Regions from separate parts of the Homo sapiens genome. Here regions 2, 3, 4 and 5 are each linked to region 1. Evidence: promoter capture Hi-C in 16 types of primary human blood cells and fetal thymus (Javierre and others, 2016). All regions are on one chromosome and are shown on one strand. The core of a region is centred on a gene start or on the middle of the fragment in contact, and the rest is flanking DNA. Distances in the headings are between cores, read along the strand shown. Region 1 holds the start of UTP23 (UTP23 small subunit processome component). Region 2 holds the start of TRPS1-AS1 (TRPS1 antisense RNA 1). Region 3 overlaps TRPS1 (transcriptional repressor GATA binding 1). Region 4 holds the start of EXT1 (exostosin glycosyltransferase 1). Region 5 overlaps TRPS1 (transcriptional repressor GATA binding 1).

The links. Contacts are between HindIII fragments. The CHiCAGO score rates a contact against its expected background, and 5 or more counts as called.
Region 2: a contact is called between the fragment with the promoter of TRPS1-AS1 here and the fragment with the promoter of UTP23 in region 1, in 1 of 17 cell types (monocytes). The highest score is 5.1, in monocytes.
Region 3: a contact is called between a fragment that was not itself captured here and the fragment with the promoter of UTP23 in region 1, in 2 of 17 cell types (total CD4 T cells and fetal thymus). The highest score is 7.1, in total CD4 T cells.
Region 4: the fragment with the promoter of EXT1 here is called in contact with the fragment with the promoter of UTP23 in region 1 in 10 of 17 cell types (naive B cells, non-activated CD4 T cells, naive CD4 T cells and 7 more); the score reaches 13.5 in naive B cells.
Region 5: a fragment that was not itself captured here is called in contact with the fragment with the promoter of UTP23 in region 1 in 1 of 17 cell types (monocytes); the score reaches 5.2 in monocytes.

The regions. Positions count from the first base shown.
Region 1 is chr8:116,763,159-116,768,386 of GRCh38, forward strand. It overlaps UTP23 (UTP23 small subunit processome component), which reads left to right and starts at 3,366. Exons shown (of 3, transcript NM_032334.3): 1 at 3,366-3,633. The coding sequence starts at 3,446. It also overlaps a transcript of EIF3H not described here. RefSeq lists enhancers at 3,283-3,432, 3,443-3,752. The HindIII fragment of the contact is 9,967 bases long and covers 1-4,357 here.
Region 2 is chr8:115,507,463-115,513,213 of GRCh38, forward strand. TRPS1-AS1 (TRPS1 antisense RNA 1) reads left to right here and starts at 2,141. Exons shown (of 2, transcript NR_186605.1): 1 at 2,141-2,264; 2 at 3,587-3,863. The region is part of intron 5 of TRPS1 (transcriptional repressor GATA binding 1); the gene reads right to left. The HindIII fragment of the contact is 3,034 bases long and covers 381-3,414 here.
Region 3 is chr8:115,662,816-115,668,736 of GRCh38, forward strand. It overlaps TRPS1 (transcriptional repressor GATA binding 1), which reads right to left. Exons shown (of 7, transcript NM_014112.5): 1 at 5,730-5,921. Among named protein-coding and RNA genes, the nearest start is that of TRPS1, 3.2 kb to the right of the region's middle. RefSeq lists enhancers at 3,528-3,617, 4,655-4,774, 5,755-5,804, 5,917-5,921. The HindIII fragment of the contact is 1,342 bases long and covers 1,847-3,188 here.
Region 4 is chr8:118,110,502-118,116,545 of GRCh38, forward strand. EXT1 (exostosin glycosyltransferase 1) reads right to left here and starts at 1,325. Exons shown (of 11, transcript NM_000127.3): 1 at 1-1,325. The coding sequence starts at 545. RefSeq lists silencers at 1,178-1,267, 1,368-1,747. The HindIII fragment of the contact is 5,337 bases long and covers 1-2,118 here.
Region 5 is chr8:115,424,893-115,430,313 of GRCh38, forward strand. All of the region lies in intron 5 of TRPS1 (transcriptional repressor GATA binding 1), which reads right to left. Among named protein-coding and RNA genes, the nearest start is that of TRPS1-AS1, 82 kb to the right of the region's middle. RefSeq lists an enhancer at 2,957-3,006. The HindIII fragment of the contact is 3,991 bases long and covers 1-3,442 here.

The DNA.
Region 1 (5,228 bases), core at 2,116-4,615:
TGACTTTGGGTAGATGTGTGTAGGGATTTCTACAGGATTGTTAGGTGAGAAAAGCAAAATGTATAGAATTGTTAAATATGATTCAATTTCGCATAACAGAGTATCTCTACATAAATATTAAATTGTATATATATGCATATGATATATCAATATGTAAATATGGAAACATTGCCAAGAGATACATAATACATCATCAAAGTGTTATCTGGGCAAGGGGAGAAGAAATTACTATCTTCATGTTCTTCCACTTGTTTTAAGAGGCATATGTTATTTTTGTAATTTGAAATACATAAAGTTTTTGTTATTTTATTTTATTTTAAAGATTATTTTAAAAAGTGACAGCCTCCATATCTGACCTTTGTAACACCTTCTGACATATTTGAAATTTCACAGTAAGGCATTCCATGATGGAGCCTATCCTAGGGGATCTTAGCGAAGAACCTCATAGGACCTCAATACAAAGTGCTTTACCTAAGTTGTCGTAAAATATTTATTTAGCTAAATTATTTATTTAGGCAGTATGTTAGATAATGTTAGGTAGAAATTGTTTTTGAGCTAATGAATGTTAACAAATGTTTATAAATATTTAGATATGAATATAAGGAAGAATAATACCACAATAGATATGTTAGCTAAATTGTCTAACATTTACGAAATTAAACAAAATTATACTAACATTGATGAAATTCAACAAAGTAACCTTTATGAATTATATTTAATGTTTACCTCTTTAATTCCATTTAGGCCATGAATCTTTCATGAGAAAGTCCTATTTGGGAATTAGTCATACGTTTCAAAAATAAATTATTCTCATGTCAACTTGGCTTCATCAAAATTTCATGAAGAAAAAAACTTCAAAATCATGTACAACAGCATAATATTATAAAACTATATTTGATCCAGACATAATAAAATGAAGAACATAAAAAATAAAGAAAAATAAATTAATCGCCTACTTACTCCAGCTGAATGTGGATTTCTATTTGGCATGGAAAATGTCCAGTGGACTGACCTGAGAAAAAAGCTAAAAACTAGCAATGCTGTTATAAATTATTGTTCCTTCAGTATAAGGTCAAAAAAATTTCAATGAATATTAAATATTTTAATAATGACATAACTTTCAAAATAAAATTTCAGATTTAAATTTATATCCAAATGGTTCACTCAATAATGGCAGTATTTGGCTTCTGCCTTGGTTGTGGCTAAATATTGATTTTCCATTACAGATCATTTGGCATCTAAACAAAAGTGTATTAAGTGGACCAATTAATAAAAATATCTTATTGGATAAACGATGCTTTATTACAAAAAAGGTCCTTCAGGAACACTAATGAGCATAATAATGATTTGGGGAGATTGTAATAAATGTCACTTCCTCTTTGAATAGTACCCCTCTCCCTCAATACTTATTCTGAATCAGAAATGGGCATTTTAAACAAGCACACTAAGAGCTTTTTCTGCATATCCCAGGACCTTGTTTTGAGAAACACTGCTGTAATAGAAAACTCTATTTTTTTCTCTTTTTGTCTTCTTTTAATTTAGCAGAGACAGGGGCTCCCTATTTTGCCCAGGCTGGTTTCCAACTCCTGGGCTCAAGTGATCCTCCCGCCTCGGGCTCCCGAAGTTCTGGTATTACAGGCATGAGCCACCATGCCCGGCCGAAAACTTTGTTTTAAACTTGATAATCACCATTATAGACCATCTTCATGTTTTCATAATAAAGATAGGGTGCAAACTGGCACTGTCATATACATAGAGCTTGGGGAAAAAATGTGCTGTAGCTTGGTAAATTAAAAAACGACAACAAAAACTAAGATAAGACTAAAATCCCTAGTGCTGCACCACATTTTTCTTAGTACTGAAAAGTGGCCAAGGAGCTGGTAGATAAATCTGAGGCTATTTAAGAAAAAATGTTTTAACTGTTTTGCAAGACTCAGGTGGTATCTCGTTTCTCTGTCTGTGGTGGGCGCATAGTTGGAGTAGAGAGTTGGCATACAGGGATAAAAAGAGGATTCAAATTGAAAAGTACTGAGCAATTACACTCAAAGACCTTGAATCCAACCCTGCAAAAGTTTTCATGGCTTCCAATTCCTAAATTCATTTTAAGTTTAAATGAAAGCAACCATCTAAGTGATGTGCTGGGACTCAGATCAGGGCTAACATTATAGATCTTATTCCAATTTCATAAACCTACATATTGAAATAAAACCCCAAATGCAAACAATGCATTCAATCACGTTGTAAATCATTTTCTGTGCTGGTTCTTTCAATCTTTAGCCAAAACTAGATCTGGGACAGATTCCAGGCAAGGACAAAAATGCAAAATTCCATACTCCCCATTCTTTGATTATTTTACCTTGAAGTGGATACTCGACAGTTAGCCACGGGAGAACTTGAAATTTTCTGATTCATTCTCCTCATTAATCAAATTGACCAAGTAATTTTTAAACCTCCAGTCAGCTTTGTGCCTTCCTGTTACTGGCCCAGTATGTAGTCTTCCTATGTCAGAGACCATGCACATAAAAAGAGTACTTGAAACTTATCTAGACCTACAACCAGTTTGACAGTGAGGAAGTTGAACCCAGCTTTCTTCGGGAGTTGCCCAAGATCAAACGGCTTGGGTTTGTGGCAAAACCAGGACTCAAGGTTAGGAATTCTGACTCTAGGCAAACGAAGCTCTTGAGAGTTCTTCCAAAACACTCCATGCGAGTGATTTAGGATGGTCCTAAGGCAGGAGGAAATGCAAAATGGTGGCACCCTTTGCCCTGACAAATGGTTCCTGAGTGACGTTAGTTTCTATGGTGGTGTAGCAAGAACATTTGAACTTCAGGCACGAAAACTGGGTTCCAGACACTAACAAACTACGTGCCCTTCGTGAACGTGCTTAATTTCTTTATGGGAAAGCAGCCAGTACAAACCTCCCCACTCATAGCTATCCAATATATCATTTCCTTCTTTCACTTGGGAATTATAAACATTCAGGGGAATAATGTAAGGTAAATCACTTAGGACAGTGTCTGGAACATATTAAGGCTCAATATTATCACTGACTACTACTATACTGCCAGTCTTTCAGAGAAGCTCTTGCTACGCGCCTCTAAAACGTAGGTAACACGCTAAATGTATTCTCGTAATTTTCTTTTACCGTGGCCCCAGACTGCGCATGTGCGCCCCCGTGCGGAATCGCGCACCCCAGCGGTTTTCCAGCGTACGCACAAGTTCCGCCCTAAGGGACCGCCCCTTTAAGCGCGGGCACTGCGGTGGAAGCGCGCGCTGGTCTGGACATGACGTAAACCAATGGGCAGGCCCGGAAGACAGAGGCGTTTGCTTCCGTGGCCAAAGGCGCTTCATTTCCGGGTGAAACTGGCATTGAGGGTACTGGGGCGTGCGTGAGGCGTTTACTGATGCTTCCTGGTCCGGTGGCCTCGGTCCCGGTAAGCCAGGCATGAAGATCACAAGGCAGAAACATGCCAAGAAGCATCTTGGCTTCTTCCGCAACAACTTCGGAGTCCGCGAGCCGTACCAGATCCTGCTGGACGGCACCTTCTGTCAGGCGGCGCTGCGGGGCCGCATCCAGCTGCGGGAGCAGCTGCCCCGCTACCTCATGGGGGAGACGCAGCTGTGCACCACAAGGTGGGCCCGGGGGGCTGGGGAGGAGGCACAGAGGGTCCGTCGGGTGTTGTAGAGGCGAGGCCGTTGCTCACAGACCTTCATTGCGAGCTCAGGAGGTGCAAAACGCCCCGCCCACGTGGAGTTGACAGTTAAGTGGAGAGGTGAAGGTGGTCAGGCGAATACCTATAATAGAGGCAGATTGGACAGTGCCCTGTGAATATCACGTGTCGTTAGCCTGGCGAATGAGAGCACATTATAGCAGAGAGATCCGACTTCGAATCTTGATCCCAGTTCTACCAGCTCTGTGATTTCTGTCAAGTTATTTAGCCTCTCTGAGCCTCGGATTCCTCATTTGTAAAATAAAGATGATAACTGCTTAGAAGATTGCTGTAAGCTCAAACGAGTATAGTGTACTAGAGCATTTTTCGGTATCCAAAGTGTACCCGTCTTCAAATGGTTGCTGTCATTTGCATAGCTTTTCTTAGTTTAAACCAAAACTCTGCAAGCCTCACAGTGAACCTGTGAGTTACCATCTTTGATGTCCAGGGCAAAAAGTCAGTACTTGAGATTAAGGAATCTGCCCAAGCACATTTGTTTATTCAACTCGCTTTATTAAGTACCTCCTATATGCCACATACTGCTCCCTCATGGCCAGTAAAGTGCATAAGTCAGTCTGCAGTGTGTGTTTTCACTCTAGGTCTGATGTTTCCCCACTTCATTGAAATGTGGGAACACTTAGGATGGAAGCTTGTCGGGATGAAGAGGAGAGAGGAGAGAATTGTGACAGATTTCAGATAACATTTGAGCCCATTCACTTGTTCAGTTCTGAGAGGAAGAACTATTTTGAATGACAGAAAAGAATGACACTTCTTGTTGTGGAGACCTCTTCACACGAAATGGAGTTATGAAATGCCTGGGAAAGAGGTTGCAGCACAGAATATATTTGGGAGTGAAACTAGGAAGAAGGCAAATTGAGGCTAGGCCATGAAGAACTATTAAGAAATTTAGTAGTTTTTTCATTGTAGAATATTTACTTTTAAAAAGCAAAAAAAGAAAATTAAAATGACTCATAATACCACTACTCACGAATAATCACTGTTAACATGTGCAGTGTCATCCATCCAGTTCTTTATACACACTCACACAAGCACAAGAATGGACTTTTAAGCCAGGCAAGGTGGCTCACACTTGTAATCCTAGTAGCTACACAGGAGGCTGAGACAGGAGGGTTGCCTGAGTCTAGGAGTTTGAGGTGAGCCTGAGCAACGTAGGAAACCCCCATCTCTAACTACAGCCATAACAAAGTATGGGCTTTTTCTGTGTATACTGTGTTAATAGTCTCCTTTTCCTCACATACGATTACTTAATGAACAGCTATCTGTATTTGTTCAGAATTTCTCAAGCAGGGTCTCGGCTGGGTTACAGATACCCCCAAAGTTTTGATCCCCTTAGTCTTTAGGGCTGTCTAACAAATCCTTCAGTAGTCTTTGCTCCTGAATTGATTGCTTTTGTCTACAAGCAATTTGTCCATATACTCCTGTGTGCCATAGAAATATTAACATTTTAAATATAGTGCTATGATATTAAAAAGGTTGAGAAGTGCCACATAAAATTAT
Region 2 (5,751 bases), core at 891-3,390, 1.3 Mb before region 1:
ATATGGGCTGATCTCATTTTCACACATGGAATCAATATGTGAGCCAGATGTTCATTTACAGAGAAGCACAGAAACGACTCATCTACACGCAACTTTATCCCGGACCACAGAGCACCACAGACCCAAAGTCTCTCGTCACCCATACAAAGCTTCACACAGTACAAAAATCTATAAAACATTCCGCTAATATTACTGTCAGCTGAATGACTTTTACAGTACTATATAAAGTTGACAGATAATACATGCCAGTCCTAATTTGAGATAGACCTTTTCTTTTGGGACCTCAACCATTGAACAAGCAAACAGATTGAGAAGTAACATTTATTACAACACATAAATCATTTTCTTACAACTATTATATAGGTCTGGCCCGAGGGTGAAGCTTCTGCCTAGGCTGAGAATCCTAATGTACTGCTTAAGTCACTAAATTGTACTGTCATTGCATGATTGGTGTGCAGAGAAGAGCTAATCTAGCTTTTCAGAAACAAGTTCTTATCAAGATAATTTTTGTTCTTTGTTCCTTGAAAAAAATGCTAACAACTTGCCTGTCTAAAATAAAAAAGCAGAACATAAAATAAAAAATCAGAACATTGGTGACTCTTGAATAGTAATGACCACCTTAACATGTTTATTTAAATTAAGCCAATGTGCCCAGTTCATGTAGAAATTTAGTTCATGTAGAAATTAGTGCATGTTCAAAATGAGAACAAAATCTGTGTTTACTACAAAGATATACAAAGAACTTTTCACTCTGAAGATAAAACTTGATGTATATCACAAATATAATGGAATCAATATTGATGGCACGAACTTTCCTTTGAGAAATAAACGCCATTTTAAAGATTGAACAAAGAATATTAATAGAGAATCATCATACACAGCTTCAAGAATTTCGCCATTCTTTTTAGAGTTGACTGAAATAAAAATTCTCTACATTTCCTGTCAAATATTGTCGTAGTACTGTCCTCAGCCGAGGAAACGAATGTGCACTTCATGATACAGTAAATTTCTCTAATGCTCCTCTAATAGCACCATGTTGGAAACACATGAGTTACCTAACATGGTGAGCTTATATTTTATATCAGTTTGCTTTCCTCGATCATCTGATCATCTTGGCCTCCGTGGAGTCTTCTAATTGCATTTAGTTCTGTTCAGTTCTGCTTGAGGATAATCCAAAGGATGTCTGTTTTTCATCAGGTAACGACCATTAAATTTGGCTGCATTTCCTTCTAAATCTTGTTGAATGGCATAAGAAACAGAAGCTAGAAAACCTTTCTCTTGTAACTTTGCTATGGTTTCTGAACCTAGACCTTTCTAGAATTTTTGCTCACTACTGCAAAACTCTGAGGCCAGATCCTTTTGGAAGTGAGTCTAAATGGTCTCTAAACTTTGATCTACTTTCCCTGGGGGTACTTAAGACTTTGGGGCATCTTTCTGCATACCCTGGAAACATTTGGACTCTATGTAAAGTTGCCAGATAATTTCTAAAATGTTTTGAATTGTGAGTTTATGTTTAGGCAGCATTTGGGGCTTTCCTTCTCTTGAATTAAACAAACATCTTGGCCAATCAAATACTCTCCCTTAAAAAAAATCTTAAAATTCCTCTCTGTGGCTCCTTATACTGTATTAGTGTGTAAGGCTGGAAAGAAATGTGTCAGATCATTTCTTTTTTCCTGTATGACAACAACCTAGAAAAGTAATGATAAATGGAGTCTACAAGGTGTTTTCCCTGAAGCCGAACTCCTTATCTCTTTAAAGAGGTATAAGAGTTCCTATTGGAGCAGGACCTATTCCAGGCAAAGCTGGGAATCACACTAGGCTTCTATTTATTCATTTAATCATCATTTATGGAACATCTGTTAAGTGCTAGGAATGTTATTAAGTGTTGAGGCTATGGAGACAGATAAAAAATAAATACCTGTCATTAATGAACTCACTGCCAAGTGTGGGGAAGGGTTTGGTGAATATCTCAGGAATAATCAGTGAGTGTGGCACATGGCAGGTGAAATATGTTAGTTTAGGCCAAATATTAAACCTAAAGAATCCAATTCAATTTTTGTTGGTATTGTCAATTTTCTAATCATCTGCAATGCAGTAAATGGTTCCTTCAAGACTAATTAATGTTCTTATCATTTTACAGAAAAGAAAAGTAACCAAACCAGAATTTGCACTAGGGAAGTTTGAAAGAAGTTGATCCATTTTGAGAAGAGAGTTACAGAAAACAAATAAGGAACCCATTGACGTCCTAGTAGGCTGAGCTCGACGTGAGTGATTCTTCGTTCTTTGGATTCTCTCTCACTCAATATCCAGTGTCTCATGGTGCCTTAGGAATTTTCCTTCCATCTGTGTTTTATCTTTGCCTTTATCTCCAATGCCTAGGCCACCACTCTGCTGTCCTGCCTGCTGTAGCTTTACCCTGGAAGTACTCATTCTTCAACAGGTTTCCAGAGGTCTCTTCCCGCTGACCTCCACCTTTCCTGCCAATATTGCAGTAGGATTAACCTGCATGAAACATTTTTCTCATTTGTAAACATCAATGGTTGAACCCTGATTAACAAGGAAAATTCAATTTCTTAGCTTTGTATTCAAGATTTTTACTTCCCTGACTCCAATTCTATTTCCTAAATGGAAAAATCTCCTGGATTCAAATTAGCCTCTGTGCATCCTCCTCCAGCATCCACATTTTACCCAGTACATCCCACTTATCTTAGGCTCAATTCAATCGTACATATCCTAAGTAACAGCAAACCAACCTGTGTCATACCCTTTGCTTTATTTTTAAAGAAACACTGGATCTGTATAGCCATATAAACATATATTCCAGACTTGGCTGGTTATGGACTTATCCTTTATAATGCATTTTCAGTGGCCAAAGAGCCTTTTAAGAGTTCTTAAAATTGTGCAGTTGCAGACACTGAACTGATTGATCACTCATGCCAGGGCTCAGGTCATCCTTCTATAATTCAGGCTTTACTCCAAAAACTATTAATCTGTTCTTCCTAAGCTATAAATCTTAAGCTATCTATTAATAAAAGTCAGTTCTCTGGGGCTTCGTCTGTTAGACCCCCAAAAGAACATCGAACTTCTAACAATGACACTGTTTCTCAATCGTCAATTTCTTATTGAAAGAGATTTTCATTAAGATTGAAAATCTTTGGCATTGAGTCATGTTTCATCTTTGACCTTGGCTTTTCCCAATGTATTTCACATCCTGAAAATAAGCACCTTCTTTTACTTTTTTGCACAGCTCAACAAGTCAATTTGGAATTCAACACAGATGTCACGTTGCTTTATTTGTCAATATTAGATGATTCTTCTTGCCATACTGAAGCGTTTTGTGGAAGGCTATCTATCCTTTATCTCCATTTTGAATGCCAAGGTTATCAGAATTAGTTCCAGACACAGATATTAGAAAGCTTCATTCAACTGAAGAAATAAATGTAAAGAATTTTCAGGATGTAGTAAAGCAATACTTCATCACTAATTCATGCGCTTGTCTCAAGGACTATTAGTCTTATAGTAGTTTGTTTTACTTTTTTTGTTCTTTACAGTTATCCTTTATCAAACTATTTGGTTTTCCTTTTAGGTCACTTCTTCCACAGAGTATACACGTCAAGAACTTAAAAAGCATTAACTTCTGCCAGATATGAAATTATTGTCTTTCTGGTGGAGAAAAGGAGCCACAGAGAGGTTCTAGGTAAAACATGGACTTTTGTCTCTTTTAATGTGGATTATCTGCTAGAATAAAATTTAGTAGATGTCTATAAATTTTCTACATTACTAGAATGCTGTTCAATCAGATATTGTTCAAAATAAATCATACTGCTGCTGAGAAATATTTTTCTCAGGAGACAACCTAACCAGAATGATATGTGTGCATTGTATTGGCCTTTGATCAGCAGTACTTCTTCAATTTTGTTTTGGTCCATGCAAAAATGACCAACGCTCCCTGTTATTGGGTGTCTATGTCATTCATTCTCTTTCCAGCACTGCCCTTTCTTGGTGCCCACAGCTTCAATCATTTCCTATCTTTTTCTTTCTCTTCTCCAATCTAAAATTGACTCTGGTTGCAGTATAACAAGCTATCAATTTTGGAAGTGACACCTGTGGTTCTAGTTGCCTAAAATCCCTGTGACAGAGTTGGGACCTGACAAAGACCCACAGCGACCTGACAAAGATCTGACATATTCTGGGTTTCCCCAAAGGGCAACTGACCCTTTGGTTTATATGATAAAAGTGAGAGGACAACAGTTTATTCAACTACAATAAATCTAACTTCTAGGGTGAATCGCTTGCAAGTTAAATTGCTAGTCAAGTTAAATAATAGGTGACATATCAAAAAGATGGATAAGACATATTTCTACATATAAACTATATGTGGTAGAGGACAAATGCACTCTAAAATTTAAAACTTTTATATCACATACGAAATGTATGAACATACAGCTAAATCTTAATATGAATCTTAATATGATAAACCAATGTAACATATCTAACATACGACTAAACAAAAGCTCTGTCCTTTAGAAACTATCGCATCAACGTGTTGCTACCATCCCTAAATACTAAAAAATTACCTTCATTCTCAAAAAGTGGCAAGATTTGTGGCTGTCACTAAGGGTGTGTAAGCATTTCCATTTAAAATTTTCTATTTTCAGGGTTTTATAAAAGCTATAAAAATTCTCTCCAAGCTGAAACTTGGCAAACAAGAACTCAGCATGAGGACAATTTTTTAAAAGCCTAAATTTAAAAACAGTATGTTCATGTACTTTTTTAAGCAATAAGAGGACAAAAAAGGAGAGAAGTTTTTTAGGTTTTGGTTGCCTTTTAAAAAAATCTGCATTCCTTAGGAACTAGTTTGTTTTTAAAAAAGAAAATTTGCGGACTATAAATTCAAAGCTTGGCCTTATTTCTTCAAGAATTGGACATAAATGAACATAATTTAAAATGGACCCTATCATAAAGAGAAGAAATTCATTGTTCTTAGACAACTATTTCTAGAAATAACTGTATCATTCTTCCCTCTAAAATGAATGTGAAAAATAGAAAATTATGCTTCATGGTTTTTTTTTGAGCTAAAAAATTCATGCTCATGAGTGAAAAAGTTCAATGAATCACCATAATATTTTTGGCCGGAAAATACTATGTATTTTATCTGTCTCCACCACCAACTACTATATATATATATGAATATTTTCTGTATTTGGCATTATCTATCATACTCTTAGATTTTGGTCAAAACTTACTCCATTAAAGTTTGTGTGTGCATATATTGAATTCCATAAATATATGGTCATGTAAGACTACTGCATACTTGCCTACAAAAATCTGTCTTAAATATATATCTTAATGGGATTAGTTTACTATTGCAGAAAAGACATATCAATATACATGTGAACTTTAATTACTATTTCATCTTCAAAAACATTTAACTCCTTTTTCCCAAGTATTGTTATGGGGAATGGGAATGACACAAAAATGAATAAGGCATGGGACCTGTTCTTAAGATACTCATAATCTTGTGGTGGATCTAACCACACAAAATGTAAACACTTGTACCCACACCTTCTTATAGAAACCTGTTACAAAAATATTTTCAAAAAAGATTGTTTCAGTTTGCCTATTCTCTTACTTCCATCCTTTTGGAAATATCTGAAATGTAGTCAGGCACTCATAATATTAAGTATTTGAATAGAAATTAAATTGAACTTTTGTAAATATAATGTAACTAACATGAATTCAGTTGCCTTC
Region 3 (5,921 bases), core at 1,268-3,767, 1.1 Mb before region 1:
TCAATCTAAAAATGCATTTTCGTAAAGTTTCATCTATTTTCCTTCCTCTGCACATAAAAATGATTAATGTCACATTTAAACTTCCACATTTTAGGCTCTTGCTAACAGGTGTCGCATTCGTTATATAAACATATTCTTTGACCTGTGGCCATTGATAACCTTAATTAATTAATCTCCATTGAAACAAAAACAAATGGATTTTTTTTCCAAATAAGAAAGAAATAATGCAACGCAAATACCCACTTTCCCCAAAACCCAAAAACTGTTTAAGTTACGGTAACCTGAAATGCACCAGCCATCACAAAGAGCAATTGGAGAAATCCAGCAGTGCTCAGCAGGAAAGATTTTTAATAACAGATTGAAAAACAAGAATAAAAATAACTGCATCAACAGAGCCTTTCTTCCTCAGGCCACAAGCCCGTTCTTACTTGAACTTTTTTTTTTTTTTAAATGGCATTTTGGCCACTAAAACCAATCCAGAACATTATTAAAAGTTAAAAGCTACCAATTACTTCTGTCTGTTCTTTTAAAGCAAAGTTTGGCATTACGTCAGTTGGTTTAAAGAAAACAAGAAAGAGAGAGAGAAAGAGTAGGAGAGAAAGTTTCCTGCTTGTATAAACTAAACCACCAGGGAAGGTGTCTAGCCACTTGTAAAGTATTTACTGCAGGTTTTTAAAAGCTAGAAACATTTTAAAAATTAAAAGTTTTTTGTTATTATTTTTAGTGAAACACACTTAAGAACGACAAGTGTATCCTTAATGTCTTCTTTGGGGTGTCTTAATGTTATATTTGTATTTCAGTTATAGCTTAGAATCAGAAAATGATTTCAAATGATGCTCCAAATTTGAAGTACATAGATAATTTCACCTTCATTTTTGCTATTTGGATTTGTGCTCTTGGAAAAGGAAAAAAAAAAAAAAAAAAAAAACTGGGATAGCAAAAAGTAGACCGCTACGATAATAGCTGCTATATGCTGCAGGGACCAGTAGAGTTTCTTCACCTAACTAATGCTTAACAATTCAAATGGTTTTCACCTGTAGATCCTACTGCACCTTCAGAGATTCCTGAAGCTCAAAGATCTCTTTCTAACCAAAGTCAAGTTCTACATTATTGTGTCCATCAGAAAACCAAACTAAAGGCCAAATTCAGTTCTCAGGAATAGGAGAACAACTGAGCACTGTGATAGCTCAAAAAGTGATCATAATAATAAAATCGAAGATATTATTTATAAAGGTCATATATAATTAATAGAATATTTTATACAAACAAATGACTTTGGCCCTACTTACATCGGAGGATAAATTTTAAAAAGTAGTTACATCCTCTGCAGCACTGTTTGCTATAGAACAATGGTATAAAACAAGATTTGGTATTTTAGCTTATTTACTTTAATCCACTGGTTACAGCTTTTGGGAGACAAATTATTTTTAAAATTACACTAAAACAAACCTCTACATAATTTTTAATGTAAATAATTGCAAAGTATGTTAGTCTTTTCTATACATGACAAGCACTCTTAAACAATTAGATTAAATGTCTACTTGGCAAAGGCTAGAAGACCATCTTTATGCTATATCTAAGGGGGACTCAAAAATTCCATAAATCATAACTATTATGGTAACAAAGAATTTACTTATTTCTGTATAATAACAAAAGATAAATGTCATTTTCACAGATAAGCCATCAAAGTAAACGCAAGTCTACGTATGCTGTCATTAATTTCCCAAAACTTCAACAAATGGTAAATAAGGATGATAAATGAGTAAACAAGACTCAGAATTAGTTATCAATGGTATTAGCAGTTATCATCAGCAAAAGAGGGAGAAAAAGAAACCTATTACCTGAAAGCTTGACCTAGCAAGGATGAACAACAAAATACGAGCCCATAAAACTTGCGGGTTTTTATCAAATTGATTGTAACTTGTGAGCTGCAATATTTGGGACAGAACTGTCTGAGTTTATAGTTTTCTATGCCTGCTAAAAACAGATGCAGACTACCACACTAGCTGTCCTGCGGAAACTAAATTAAGGAAAGGCAAATACCAAGTGGAAAGTTGTCAGCCTGTTGAATGAATGGCTTCATTTTACACACCAGAGAAATCTTAATAAGAATATGTTTTAATGTAAGCCAGTCATTTTAAGTTCATCACTTATTACAAAAATAATCTTTCCTTTAAATCAATTATAGACACCTGCCCATAACTTTCTTAAAGTCTGTGTTGTTGTACACGTAATAGCATAGTGTTGTTACATTATTGTTGCTATCAAAAGAAGAACTGAAGTTAAAATATAATTATTCTAAAATATTCATGTTATGAAAAATGTTTAAAGGTCAGTTATCAGCATTTATTCCAATTTCAAATTTGGAATAAAGTTCTAGTTCAAAAACAATTTGCTGCAAGTCCTCTGGAAACTTTCAGTAATGTTTATTTACAACAAAGAAGGTAAGACAAGCGTTTATAAAAATCTACAGTCTTTGGTTGCTTTCTTAATAAAAATGTACACATCATTAATCACATATTGTGGGTTGTATGTCTGTACACACATACACATATACATCTAATAATAGTAGTGATAATAGAACCGTCACTGAAATACTAGAATCGTAAAAGCTGCTTTTCTACAGATGCATGCATTTCCCTGTTTTAAAGGTCTTCCTTATGAATGAATATTTCCTTATAGGAAGAGATCTATATGATGTAAATCAGAATAAACTCAGGAGTGGTAGGTGACTTAAATAATACTGAAAATATGGTAGTAGTATGTGTAACTTATTTCGGATTAGCACACTGATTCCGATCCTAAACTGGTTTTCAAACACGTATGCAGAAAATTTTATAAAATCATTTAAAATATTAGTCATCGAAATGCTAAGTTCTAAATTCAGCTCAGACTTCACAGCTATTATGACATTTTTCTCCTTACCTTTAACGTTACCTTTAAGAGACAAAGGACAAAACCTAAATAGTAGCACAGACCCTTACAGCATCTAGAATTCAAAGGAGTGACAAACTTTGTGTTAGTAACTTGCTACTTTCCACCACTTATTTGAAAAGTGTTAGACTTAGGTATTATGTATGGAAAAGCAGTCTACACATATATATCCTAACATATAACATACATATCAGGAAGCCATAAACATCAGCTCGCCAGTGGTAAATAATACTTCGCCAACAGAGTACTAATGAAGCTTCAGAAGGCCTCACATTCAGAGAAATCAAGTTATAATGTTGGTATTAAGGCTCTATTTGCCCCTCAGGAGTTTTATTTTCACATTATTAACATCCAGAAATAATCGTCAAACTTTAGCATGTTACTAGCCCTGTATATTGAACTGAATCTAGAGATGTTTTTATCCAAAGGTGTAGCTTTAAAAGGAAGTTATGAAATCCAAGGAGAGAGAAACTCTAAGAATATGTTTGACTTGTTAAGATTAAGCATATCATTAATAAACTTTCACTTAAAGGTAAAAAAAAAAAATCCTCAAAATGTTGGTATCATTTCCAGACTGTCCTGTCAGCATCAGAACTTACAGGAAACGCTTCATCTTCCCATACAAACCCTGTATTTATTCACAACCCTGGCATACTTGGGGAAAGAAAAAAAAAAAAGCCCACACGATTTTAGATCCTGTTTGCTTTTATACGTTAACTGGTGGAATATCTGAGAGAGCCTTCTAAGCAAATGAGCGGCATGTAAAACTTCACAACAGTGAGTTCAGAAACTTTCATTCTCATTTTGTCCACGTCAAGAACTGGCTGCCCGCATGACTTTCCTCTGCTGTCCCTTGCATTTTTAACTCTGGCAGCCTTTTCTAAATGATCAACTTTTTCTAAAACCAGCAGGAAAGTAACATGATGCCAGCAAGATCCATAGGTTTTAGCTTCAGAGCTGGAGGACTTTGAAGAATTGTTGGAAGGTTCCTATTTTATTTTTGCTTTGAACAATCAAGTTTTAGCCAACAACCAGGCCCAGAGTTATCATTTCTTTGTAATTTTGTCTCAGGCCCTATCTGTATTTTTCTTTTGTACTTATTATCTCTCCCAGACCCTTTCCTTTCCTGTTCACCTGGTGTGTTTACAAAAGTTCAATGAATCTACAAAAGTTCAATGAATAGGCCTAACTTGTCTCAGATTTAACTCCTCCGCTGAGCTTCTCACTTCACTTACCTCGCTTAAACTCTAGCCGTGATTTTCCAAAATGGCATAAGAATGAATATTCTATCATAATTTAGATTCATCATTAAGATCAATGGCTTACTCAAAAAACTTTCAAAGCATCAAATATGAGGCCTAAAAAGATAGAGGGAAGTAAAGCCGGTCCTAAAATTTAATAAGTCCAAGATTCCCTCTGAAACCCACCAGTCCTTCTCACCCTCTAACTTAAATTGCTTTAGAGTCCTGGGGCCATAAAACAGTTGCTGACTTCCCTGGGGAAAGGGGGAAACACCACCATCTCAGACAGGTACTAACGAAAAAGCTTTCCCAGCCACAAAAACAGCTTTACACTTCAAACAGCTCCCACCGCCGCCTCACCCTCAAATTATTCCTGGGGTCCTATAATCCTGGAGTTATTTGGAGGGACAGCGATGTTTGCCTTGGCCTTTCAAAGATGCGTTTCTCTAGATCCCAAACAGGAACCAGACAGAAGGCAAAGCGTCTGTCCGCTTGGATGTCCCACCGCTGTCAGGCATTTAATCACCGGCCAGTGTCCCCTGACCCGCGCGACACATGGCGCATCAACCGCATCGCAGAGGAAGTCTGCCCCTTCCTCAGCCCCTACGGAAGCGCCCGGGCTGCAAGGCCCTGCCACATGGTACGGACAGGGCACAGACCGCTCGGCCAAGCTGTCCTGAGCCGCTCTGAGGCGGGTGCACCAAGGGATGCGACACCCGCCTTCTCCAGAGCCCAGCTGGGCCTTTAAGGGAAAAAAGTTTGAAGCCTGCATTTGCAAACTCTTCAAAGCCAAAGGCAGTCCTGTGCTGTTTTCCCACTTTGGAGACCATACGGAGGCCCGTCTCTGAGACCCTCCCGACCCTCCCGAGTTCGCCCAACTTACTACTCTGCATGCTGGTGCCTAGTCTGCGCCCCGCTTGTCACGAGCCCCCAGAAAACTTGCAGTGGCGGCGGCGGCGGCGGCCCCTCGGGTCCAACCACCTCCAGCTCCTCCGCTGCGCCCGGTAGGAGAGAATTAAAATCAGCCAGAAAGAGACAGCGAGGGGGAGTGGGGCTGCGAGGGGGAGGGGGCACCGGCCTGAAACTTCTTTTTTTGGCAAATGGGGATTTGTTTTTCCTCCTCCCCGGCGGCTGAACTTGACCCTGCTGACTCCAGGGGCTACTGCAGTTTGAAGTCGCTGGTTTCCAAAGCTCAGATGCCTCAGACCCACCAAAAGGAGGAGAGGAAGGGGGAAAAAGGGAGCAGAAGAGAAGAAAGAAAGAAAGAAATCACACGCTCAAAAAGGAAGAAAGAAAATGCATGTGAAACCCGAGAAGCCTGCGCTTGGCTTTCTGCACACTCTCCCTCTGCTTTTTTTTTTTTTTTTTTTTTTTTCAAAGAAAGTCACTTTTAATTCCCAGGGCTCCCCGCTCGCGATCGCCCACATTTTGCGCGCACACGAGCGGGCGCTGCACTCGCGTCGCGGCGCCCCGGGCCCGGCCGAGGGGCGCCCGCGCCCCCCGCGCCCCCCGCAGCCCCCGGCCCCGCGGCCCGCTCGGGCCTCCCCTCCTTACCTGTTGATTAATCGTCAAGAACACCCTCGGCAGCCCGAAAGATGGTGGCGCGGCGGCCAAAGCCATGAACCGTCTTCTGTTGTTTGCAGAGTTGATCTTGGATTATTGCGGGGGGGAGAGAAAAAGGTCTTTCCTGCCTCCCCCCCCTTTCCCTCCCCCACCCTTATTAAAAAAGAGAGAGAGAGAGAGAGA
Region 4 (6,044 bases), core at 75-2,574, 1.3 Mb after region 1:
TGGAGACTCTGCACTTTGGATCTCAAATTGTGCACATACTGAGGTGACAACTGGTCTCTGTCTAAAGTATCCAGACTCAGGACAAAGAGGCACGCCTGGCTGGGGTCCGAGGTGTAGAACCTGGAGCCCTCGATGGCCGCTAGAATGTTTTGGTAACTTTCGGCGATTTTCTCCCCTTTTTGCTGTGGGTATACGTAGACTTTGAAGCCGTTTTTCTTGCAAAGGGTGAAATCGAAGCAGGACTCCATGCGGCACTTCTTGCCTTTGTAGATGCTGGAGTTGGCATCTCGCTTCTGCCGGGGGGAAATGTGCACGCTGGAATCCTCGTTTTCCAATTGATCCCAAGGAACGAAGGGGCGCAGAGCGTCCGGGAAGCGGGGCCAGAAATGATCCGGACTGGGGTGGTGCAAGCCATTCCTACCGCTGTGTTCTTCTCTCCGGCTGTGGCTCCTCGATGCCCTAAACTGCAAGCCTCCGAAATAAAACAAAAGGGCGAGACAAGAGCCAGCTGAGAGCAGGATGAAATAGCGTTTTTTGGCCTGCATGTGTCCTGCCTGGGTCAAGAGGATTGTAAATAAACACAAGAATCACCCAAGTTTCCCAATCAACACTTTCAGCTCCAGTCCGCCATCTTCCCGCCTGTAAAGACTTCAAACTCTCCGCTCCCACCTTCTCTGGATGCCTTTCCCCAAGCCGTGGACTGATCCAGCGCATGTGGGCGATTTCTTTAACTTTCTCCCCTTCGGTCTTTCATCTTTGGGTTGCACAATGCACGGGAGAGAGCGGGGCTGAATATCTCGCACCCAGGGCGGGCGAGCAGCGGACTGTAATTTTCTTGCATGCAACAAGACGGAGGAAAAGAAAGAGAGAGGGGAGAAAAAAAAAGCTCCCGATACCCAATCAATGGCAAGACGAAGTGATTGCCTTGCCTCTCGGATTCCTCTCGGCAGCGTGGAAAATGAGCCCCGGGAAGGCAACTTCAACTCATCCACCACTCTCCGTGCAGAGCACTCCGGTTCCAACAAGTCAGCCGATCCCGGGTTCAGCCGGCTAGTGCATCTTGCAGCTGGGGCGCCGTAACCTCACAAATCCCTGCATCTCTCTTTATTCCCTTCTGCAGCGGCTCCAAGACTCCGGCGGTGTTTACTCCTGCGCTCGCGGGGCCGGCCCCCGGGACGCGCGGCGGCCCGGCTGGAGGCGGCGGCGGCGGCGGCGCTGGGTGGCGGCGGCGGCGCGTCCTCCCCGCGGGCAGTGCCGGCCCCGAGCAGCGCTTCGCAGGCCCCCGCGCGAACGCTGCCGACCGCCGCGTTCGGTCGCCGAATGTTACCCGGTTCTGAATGTTACACTTACACATTCCATTCCCGACACGACAGCGCTGACCTCATCCATCCACGCAGCCCGCGCTGCCATTGGCCGAGCGTCACGTCCGGGGGGGGCGGTGCTTCCGCTGCGCCCATTCATAACCCCCGGCCGCGGGCCGAGGCGCCGGCGCGGCGTTGGGGGCGTAGGGGGCGCAGGGAGCCGGGGCTCCCGGGTTGCAAGCTGCCGGCGGGCTGCCGGGCAGGTGGAGCGCGGGACGGCCCGGTGCGAGCCCCGCGGCCCCTCGGCGCGCCCAGGCCCGGATCTCGGCCTGCGCCGTGCCGGGGACCAGAGGCGCCTGCGGAAACGCGGCGGCCGGGGAAGGAGGCACCGGCAGGGGCCCCGTGCCGCGCGGCCCCGGGCGCCCTGGAGAATCTGGCCTCCTGGGCTGCCTGCCGGAACGCCTAGAGAAAGATGCTTTGAAGGAGGGAAGCAGGGAGGAAAGGAAGACTTCATAGAAAGCGACCGCCGATCCGAAAGCTGCCTCTCCCAGCCCTCCTTCCACTCTCCGAGACCCAGTATTTCAATTTTCTGCTAAGCATTAAAACAATCTCCCCTTACTCCTCCTCTACATAGCACATTTTTTTAAACCAAAGAAACACCCCAATGCCCAACAATAAAGAGGAATTATTACAATCAAGAGGAATTGTTGCAATTCTTCATGCCTGCCTCTGTGCTAAGAGTGTAAGACGGCTATCCTAAATCCTCATTATCTACTTAGGCCGCCTTGCCTGAGCCCCCTCTGTCTATTATGAAGAAAGCTTCCAAGAGATCCAATCACAGAGAAAAAATAAATTTTCTAATGGCTGCAGGGAAACCAGTTAATTTAAGCTTGCCCCAGTCCTCAAAGTGATGTTATTCTCTTGGTGGTGGTGGTGGTGGTGGTGGTGTTAAAGATATCTCTTAAGGACATATGACTGGTAGAATTGCCAACTGTCCCAGCTATAGAAGGAACACTTGCATCAGGAAAACTACCTTATGTACAATTAGTGCCAAATAGTTGGTCCTTCCCTCACTGACCTCCCACTCCTTGGCCCAAGCTCCTGCCACTCCCAGTGGAAGAACTTCATTAGATAACTCAGGTAACCGAGGAGCAGTCCCGCTAAAGATCCTCCAGGTCCACAAAGATGTGCTAGGCTCCCAAACAGTATCTCTGGTCAAAGTCAAACTCCCTGGCCTCAGATCCTGAACACTGCTTTACAGAAAACACCTCCCACCCTCTGGCCTAGCTAAAGTCTCAGGGCTCGGGCAAGCTAGACAGTTGCCTAGGGCAGCCGGCTGTTTAGTGATTGTTTATTATGGGAGTGACTGAGAGCTAGGAGCAGACACTTCCCGGCTTCCCTCAGGCTGCAAAAACCCCAGCGGGGTGTGGATGAAGGGCAGGGTTATAACAAGGCAGTATGAAATGATAGAGTGGAAAGTTTCAGACCTCTGTTGTTTCAGATTTGTTTTAATAAAGCAGGGAAGGGGCATGGGTGGGACATTACTATACATTCGTGAAGCCTCTCCCTATTTCTGACCTGCCAAAGATGAGACAGCTTTTCCAGATTTGACTTGAACCCCCTGCACAATGTAGAGAGGCCTGGGACAGGAATAAGGATTCAGTCATCTTCCAAATACAGTGACAATGATGCAGATAAAGGCAGTGATTGAAACCACATGTGACCCAAAGCTCCCCCCAGCCCAAGTTGCTAAGAACAACAGTTCAAGGCAGGAGGCCTTCTCTTCTGATCAGGGTGCAGATTATCTCAGCCCTGTGAAGTGGGGCTGTGGGACTGGAGGTGCTCTCTCTCTCTCTCTCTCTCTCTCTCTCTCTCTCTCTCTCTCTCTCTCTCTATATATATATATATATATATATATATATATATGCTGGAGTGCAGTGGCAGGATCTCGGCTCACTAGAAACTCTGCCTCCCAGATTCAAGTGATTTGCCTCCCTCAGCCTCCGGAGTAGCTGGGATTACAGGTGTGCACCACCAGCCCTGGCTAATTTTTGTTTATTTTTGGTAGAGATGGGGTTTTGCTGTATTGGCAAGGCTGGTCTCGAACTCCTGACCTCAAGTGATCTGCCCACCTTGGCCTCCCAAAGTGCTGGGATTACAGCATGAGCCACCTCGCCTGGCCCCTCTATATCTTGCCAGTTGTTTTGCATGACCTTAGGGGGAGCTAGCTACCCTCCTTGCTCTTTTGTGTTCTGTTTATGTTTTGGCATGTGCTTCCTGCTTTTCTTGCCTAATTATGGCTAATTTCCTTATCCCAGACCCCAGTGTTACCCATCTCTACTTGTACATCCCAAAGTGTTGTGTACTGTCAGAAAAACTTTGGTGCTGACAATTAGAGAAAACTTGAATTCAGACCCCAGATCTGCCATTTACTAGTACCTTGGGCATGTGGCTTAATTTCAGTGGACCTCCAGTTTCTCGTTTGAAAAGTCAGGATAATAATATCTTTCTTGCCAGCAGTTTTTTTTTTCTTTCTTTTCTTTTTAACAGAGTCTTGCTCTATTACCCAGGCTGGAATGTGCAGCAGTGTGGTCTCAGCTTACTACAACCTCCACCTCCCGGGTTCAAGTGATTATCCTGCCTCAGTCTCCCGAATTGCTGGGATTACAGGCAACCGCCACCATACCCGGCTAATTTTTGTATTTTTAGTAGAGATGGGGTTTTGCCATGTTGGCCATGGCTGGTCTCGAACTCCTGACCTCATGTGATCCGTCTGCCTCAGCTTCCCAAAGTGCTAGGATTATAGGCGTGAGCCGCCGTGCCTGGCCTCAATTTGTAAACTGTAAATTGCTCTACATGTGTAACACCATTAGCCTAAGTTCCACTTTTCAAACTCCAACTGTAATCTTAAAAGTAGCCCCTACAATGGTATCATCATTTTGTCTCCTCTGTTTTATTTTTTCCTAACCCTTATTAGCTGAAATCTCCTCTGTTCGTTTGCTTGTTAACTTTTCACAGTAAGGAAGCCCCTGAGAGGAGGAGCACTGTTTGTCCTACTCACTCCTTTATCCCAAATGCCAAGGGCAGTACCTGGCACTTAAGTGAAGCTCAATCACTGATTCAAATGAATGAATGACTTAGTAAAATTCAGCTTCATCACAGCACTTGTACAAACTCGAAAAGAAAGAGCTCATAAGTACAGGCAACAAAAGCAAAAATAAACAAGTGAAATACATCAAACTAACAATCTTCTGCACAGTCAGTAAAGGAAACAATCAACAAATGAAAAGGCAGCCAACAGAAGGAAAGGAAATATTTGCAAACCAAATGCTGATATGGGGTTAATATCCAAAATATACAAAGAACTCACACAACTCAATAGCAAAAAAAAAAAAAAAAAGCAAAGGACCTAAATAAACATTTTTCAAAAAAGACATTCAAATGGCCAATGGGTATATAAAAATGTGTTCAACATCGTTAATTATCAGGGAAATACACATTAAAACCACAGTGAGATACTACCTCATACCTATTAGAATGGCTGTAATCAGAAAGACAAAAGATAACAATGGGGCAACATGAAGAAAACAGAACCCTTGCACACTGTTGGTGGGACTGTAAATTCATATGGCCATTGTAGAAAATGATAGGGAAATTCTCAAAAATTTAAAAGTGTAATTACCATATATCATCTAGCAATCTTACTTCTGGGTATATATCCAAAGGAAATGAAATCAACATGTCAAAAAGATATCTGCATTCCCGTGTTCACTACAGTGTTATTCACGATAACCAATACGTGGCAACAACCCAAATGTCTGTTGATTGATGAATGAATAAAGACAATGTGGTACATATATGCAATGGAATATTATTCAGCCATAAGAAGCAGGAAATCCTACCAGTTGCGACAACAGGGATGAACCTTATGCTCAGTGAAAGAAGCAAGATATAGAAACACAAATACTGCACTTCTGTGTGGATCTGACCCATATGTGGAACCTAAAAAAGTCAAACTCACAGAAGCAGAGAGTATAATGGTGGTTGCCATGGTCTGGGAGTTTGGGGCAATCGGGAGATGTTAGTCAAAGAATATAAACATTCAGTTATAAGACGACTAAGTTCTGGGGATCTAACATACGGCATGGTGACTGTGGTTAATAATGCTGTATTGTATACCTGGAATTTGCTAAGACAGTACATCTTAAGTACTCTCACCACACACACACGTACACATACACACAAAGATAACTATGTGCCATGACAGTTGGGTTAATTGGCTTGATAATAGTAATCATTTCACAATGTATACATACATCAAATCATGTTGAACATCGTCAATGTATATACAGTTTTTATTTGTCAATCATATCCCAATAAATCTGATGAAAAATCTTTCTTAAAGGCCCCTTGGTAGTCCTCAAAGCAAGACTCAGTCTGTGGTTTGAAGTGGAAATATTACTAACCAGGATTATCTTCACAGAGGGCAAGCTGGTCCATTGTAAATCCTTTAACAATGATGTGTTTCAAACCATGTAACTCCTCTGGTCAAAGCCCTCAAGGGATCCCTGTCTCTCTCCACTAAGAGATAAAGCCCTTTCAATTACCTGCAAGGTCCTGCAGGATTTTTCTTAACCGTCCCTCACCTCCCCTCACCGCATCCTCTCACCCCATTTCCTGCCTATATCTCTCTCCCTCCCTCCTGATCTACTCACTGTGCTCCAGCCAGGCTGGTGACCTTGT
Region 5 (5,421 bases), core at 197-2,696, 1.3 Mb before region 1:
TTGAATATTATTTTATTCTTATCTCTATCATGCGCCACTAGGAGACATCGAAGGCCATGTCCCTCCCCTCTTCCCCTCCAAAATAGAATTAACCAGCTGTTGACTACACACCAGTAGACCCTATGGAATATACTGAATTCAGGAGCTAAAACAACTTAAAAATAGATGGTGGTTTGCAATAAACACCTTTAGATTAATAGCCAGACTCTTACCAGGAGCACAGGCTGGCCAACAATTGAACAAGACCAGGGAAAGCACTCTGCCAACAGAAAGCAATAGTTTACCAATATCCTGGCCAACTTTTGTTTCAAATAAAATTGTGAAGAATCCGTTGAAATGGGCTGTACTGCATGTCTTTGCCTGCTTTAAAACAGTCCTCTTTGCCCTCAGATTTCTTGCCAAAAAACTGAAGGGACTCTATCAGGTTCAGCCAAGCACCCATCTTATAATCACCATAGAGCTTGGAAACAAAACCTGTTTACCCTGCTTATTAAATTCACTTCCTCAACACATCAGCAATGATAATGGAGACCAGTGTAAACTAAACTGGCATCTCTGGCTAAGAGCAATAGAACAGTTTTTGTTCCAGGACATGAGGCAATACATACTCCAGTAATCATACCTTGCACTGAGATATGAATGCACCTAAGACTTATCCCACTGACAATGTCGCCACATAGGGAGCTACCCGATATATCAGGTAATGCTGCTGTGCTAAACACATTAGCTCCATCTCTTCTGAGATGTAACTGGTGATTCTCAGAGTGAAAGAGCAGAAAATCACTATTTCCCCATGTATATCCCACTCTTTATTCATACAGATTCTTTACATCTCAAGGTTTTAGAAATTTATCACACAGATATAAAACCTATTACACAGATCTGAGGACCCCATCTCCCTTCTTTAACTAACCCCATATTTGGTAGCTAACCCTGTATTTGGTAAAGGAGCAAACCAAACACCCTGTGTCATAATGAAATTACATAATAGAATCAGAATTGGAAAAACCCAGATTTCTGGAGTTCTAACCACGCTGTTTCTGTAATAATGTTCTGCCTTTACAGCAAATATGCATTTGGACAGCTAAAAATATGGTTGAAAATTTATGTCTGCACTGTCTTTTTTTTCATTCCACGTGAAAGTCATTATTGTTAAAAGAACTACTCAAGTCTCTCAGAGCTTCTATTTTTGCCATCCTGTATGTGTTTTCACCCTTCCTTCAGCTACAACAATGGCTGGAAAGTAGCTCTATGGGGACTTTCTTCTATGCCAGTGCCAAAATCTGACACTGGAAGGAAAAAAATACTAAAAGGCCTTTTGGAGGCACAGTTAAACAATTTTAGCACCTCTTAAACTTCAGTGTGACAGCACAAGAGTTGATTCTTCTAATAAATTTGTTGCATATTTTATTTATATAATATATTTAATAAGCAGATTTATTCTGGGATAGGTTCATATTCTAAAAATAAAAATATCAGCGATGAAGACCTTTCTAGAAAAGTCCTAAAAGCCAAAAGTCTCAGCTTCTAGGCATTTAATTAGAGAGTCAGATACAGTTATTAATATTTCATGTATTACACCTTTTTAGGGCTGCCTTTATAATATATAATGGTTATTTTGGGAAAAAACAGAAAAAAAATCAATAATTCTTTTCATAGTATCTAACATAATAACTGGTTTATGAAGTGTTGCCACCCTCGAGGCAGCTATATACAATTCAGTGGTTCCTCGATGGTTTCTCACACTCTTGGGGATCATACAATCTTTTGGTGAAATGTATGACACTCTCCAGAAAAAAATAAAGTGTAAAATATTTACAAATAACTTTAACATGGTCAAAAGCATGTCCCTCACAAAATGTATCCAAAGATTTCCTGTGGATTTGAGTGCCGACTGATCCAGATCCCAAGGTTAAGAACTCCTAACACATATTATCCCAGTTCAGATTTACGGTGAATTACTAATTACTATTACTCTCCTTTTATTGATGAAGTACAAAACTGACAATAGTTCTTTGACTTATCTAGCATCAAAGAACACATTCTGGTCTCTAAGTCTAGGCAATATGACAGGATCATATTCTAAAAAGCATTTTTGGCCAGGCGTGGTAGCTCATGCCTGTAATCCCAGTGCTTTGGGAGGTCAAGGTGGGAGGATTGCTTGAGGCTAGGAGCTTGAGATCAACCAAGGCAAACACAGCAAGAACGTGTCTCTACAAAAAGTTAAAAAAAAAATTAGTTGGGTGTGGTGGTATGCATCTATAATCTGAGCTACTCTGGAGGCTGAGGAGAGAGGATGGTTTGAGCCCAGGGGTTCTAGACTGTAGTGAGCTATAATCATGTCACTGTACTCCAGCCTGGGCAACAGAGCGAGACACTGTCTCTAAAATAGATAAATAGAAAATTAATTAAATAAAAAAGAATTTTTGAATCAACTATTTAATAGAATACTCTTGTTTGACTATCTTTGTCCCTTTTTAAATAATCATCATTGCACATATGTTTGCAGGATAACATATGATAGGCCTAGTCTCATTATCTGATATCCTCAGAATGATCCTAAGAGGCAAGTATTATTATCATTATTATTATTATTCCCTCCACTTTATAGATGAGAAAACTGAGGCTTAGAAGCAATTTGCAACTGCTGAATAGTAGGGCTAAGATATAAACCCAGGTTGCCCTCACTTCAAAGCCACAGTGAACCATGTTTCAGGCCTTATTACTAAAGAGGAGATTGGGGAATTTTTACCAAAAATATTACACCATATCCTGGCCTTAAAGAACGCTTATCTCTTCAAACCACCCAATAACAGCTGATTGAAATTATGCAAGTTTTGAGGTACCAGAAAGAAATGAGTCATCCTTCATCAGATATGGCAACGAGCTGTTTTGAGGTCGACAGACACAGTCATAGCCAGAGGAACAGAGCACTTGGCTGATGGAGGGGGCAGTGCTGGGGAGGGGGGAGGGGTGCAGTACATGTGTTTTGATCCTGCTGTGTCAAAAAAAATAAAAAAAGTATGTGAAACAGGCCGCTGCTTAAAAGCAGAAGTTGGTGACACCACTGACTTAGCCTCTCATAGCGCCTGCTACATGGGAGGTTAGCTGTGAATGAAAGTCTCTCTTTGCTTTTGCAGAAGACTTGGCTAGAGTTGGGGCAAGAAAAATGGTGCTGGGGTTTTGACATGCTCTGTAAACACACATGTTCAGGTAACAATTTACTAGATTTCTTTTATATATGTGTATGTTCCAAGGCAGAGACCTTTTGTGATATTTGGTATCATTTTTATTCAAGATAAATTACTGGCAGTTCTGAAAGGTGAGGTTATTTTACCAAATTCCTCAAGAATCAGATAATATAAAAATATTTTAAATAATGTCTGCTTAAAAACTCCCCCACTATTATATATAAAACTTCATGTTCTTCATCTATCTATGAAGCTTACTATTATACTTCTCATATGTGATATACTTTTGCATTTCATCACAGAAGAGTAATGACAAAAATACTCCTAACTCTAAACATTTTTTATAGGCTATCCAATTGAGAGTATTCAGTACAAGTCAGATGTTAAAACGCAGCCTTGAGTCTGCTCAGCAGAAAGATGGCAACCACTGCTTATTTTAATGTAAACAACAAAAACATACGGGAATACATGAGTTAAATATACAGAGGTTCAAAACAGTTAAAAGAGTTAATGACAAACTATGAATGTGTCCACAAAAAGAGCCTGACACCAAATATGCAATTTGGATTAAATACTTCACAGACTATCTCGGGAATACCTCTGGGACCACGCAATTCTGTCTGACTTTTAGAAACACGGGGAATGGGGCAGTGGGAGACTAAAAAAAAATGAACCTGAATTTCATTTATTTTTGACACTATAAATCATTAAAAATATTCTCTCTCATTTAATTCAATTTTGTATGTCCTCAGGACGGGTAAAATCATAGGTATTTACGGACACCTTTCCAATGATTAAAACAAGCACTTAATGTTATGTCATTATTCAAATGAAAGATTTGTCTTTAAATAAGAGCTCTGTGACCACTATTGGTGAAACCGACCATGAGCAGATAATTTCATGATAGAGGTACTGTGCAGGCAGGGAAACTGAGCTGATTTCTAAAGTTTTAATAACATGATTTTTAAAAGACGAAGTGGAATTATGAATTTCCTTAACAATAATGATGTAATTTTGTAATAACTGAAATCTTTCACGGGAAAACTACCTCTTCAATAACTCACCCAGTCAATTACACAGGAAAGTCCTATAATAGGCTGTCCCTACTCCCTGCCCCGTCAAATAGCTCACGTACACGACTTCCTTTTCAATTACCAACTTGTCTGCAGTACCATCTGTAAAAACGAACACATACCTTATGCTGCCAGTTTTTGCTTTTGCACGTCCATTAGTGGGACTGGCTGCAGCTGCTCAAGAAGAAAGCAGTGATTGTCTTTGTTATGTATACATACGTAAAAATTCTCTCTTCAGTACCACCAGATTAGCTCAAGGTAATACATTGTCTTGGGTAGGAAACTGCACTCATACGAGCCTTACTCGCACCCGGCTCTCTCTGTGATCTGGAGTTTATTAATCACACTATATCGCATACCAAAGTAAGAACTACCTCATCGCATCAAGCATTCTGGAGAGTGCCCCTCAGTCATCCGTACCAAAAGGAACAGTTAAAGCTGTTTCTCACTTTGACATTTTGTACATCGAGCAGAATATCAGGAAACCAAAACCGAGACCTGGCAGCCCAACTTGAGACACAAAACTCCTGGTGAGTGAGATTTTATTTCATGAGAAGGGCTCTGAAAATATAACACTAACTTTTCAACAACTTTATTTTCCCCTGCCTTATGTTTATATTCTTTTTCTGTTGGCATTATTTTTCCTCTAGATGAACACACTGAATTGGTCACACAATCTCGGCAAAAGACGTAAATAAATTATAGCAAGAAATTACCCACAATTATTTTTTAAAGTGATCTGTGTTAAAGAAATGTCATTTCTCCCTATTGTGAAGTAATATAGATTTTTTAAAGGAAAAGAAAAAAATTACCAAGCTCTTAAAGATATTTTGAAAAAGGATTCATAGTGTAGCTGAAATTTAAAACACATACAAAAAATGAAAAGCAAACAAAAATGCTTAGTTGTGACTTACCCTTTGCTATTTCACATTTACAAATTTACCCCAAATGTATCAAAACTACTCTTCATCATAAGAGGAACTTTGTGACAAGGTACAAACTTAACTGTTGGAGCATTCGAATGTTAGTTTTGCCTCGGCTTTTCATATCTTGAATTGTCTTAAATCACAAAATAGTCCTACTTTCTCTGTATAGGTATAGGAGACAGACTGCTGGATTCCAATTATTTTCATGTGCAAGTCACACAGGGGAAAGGA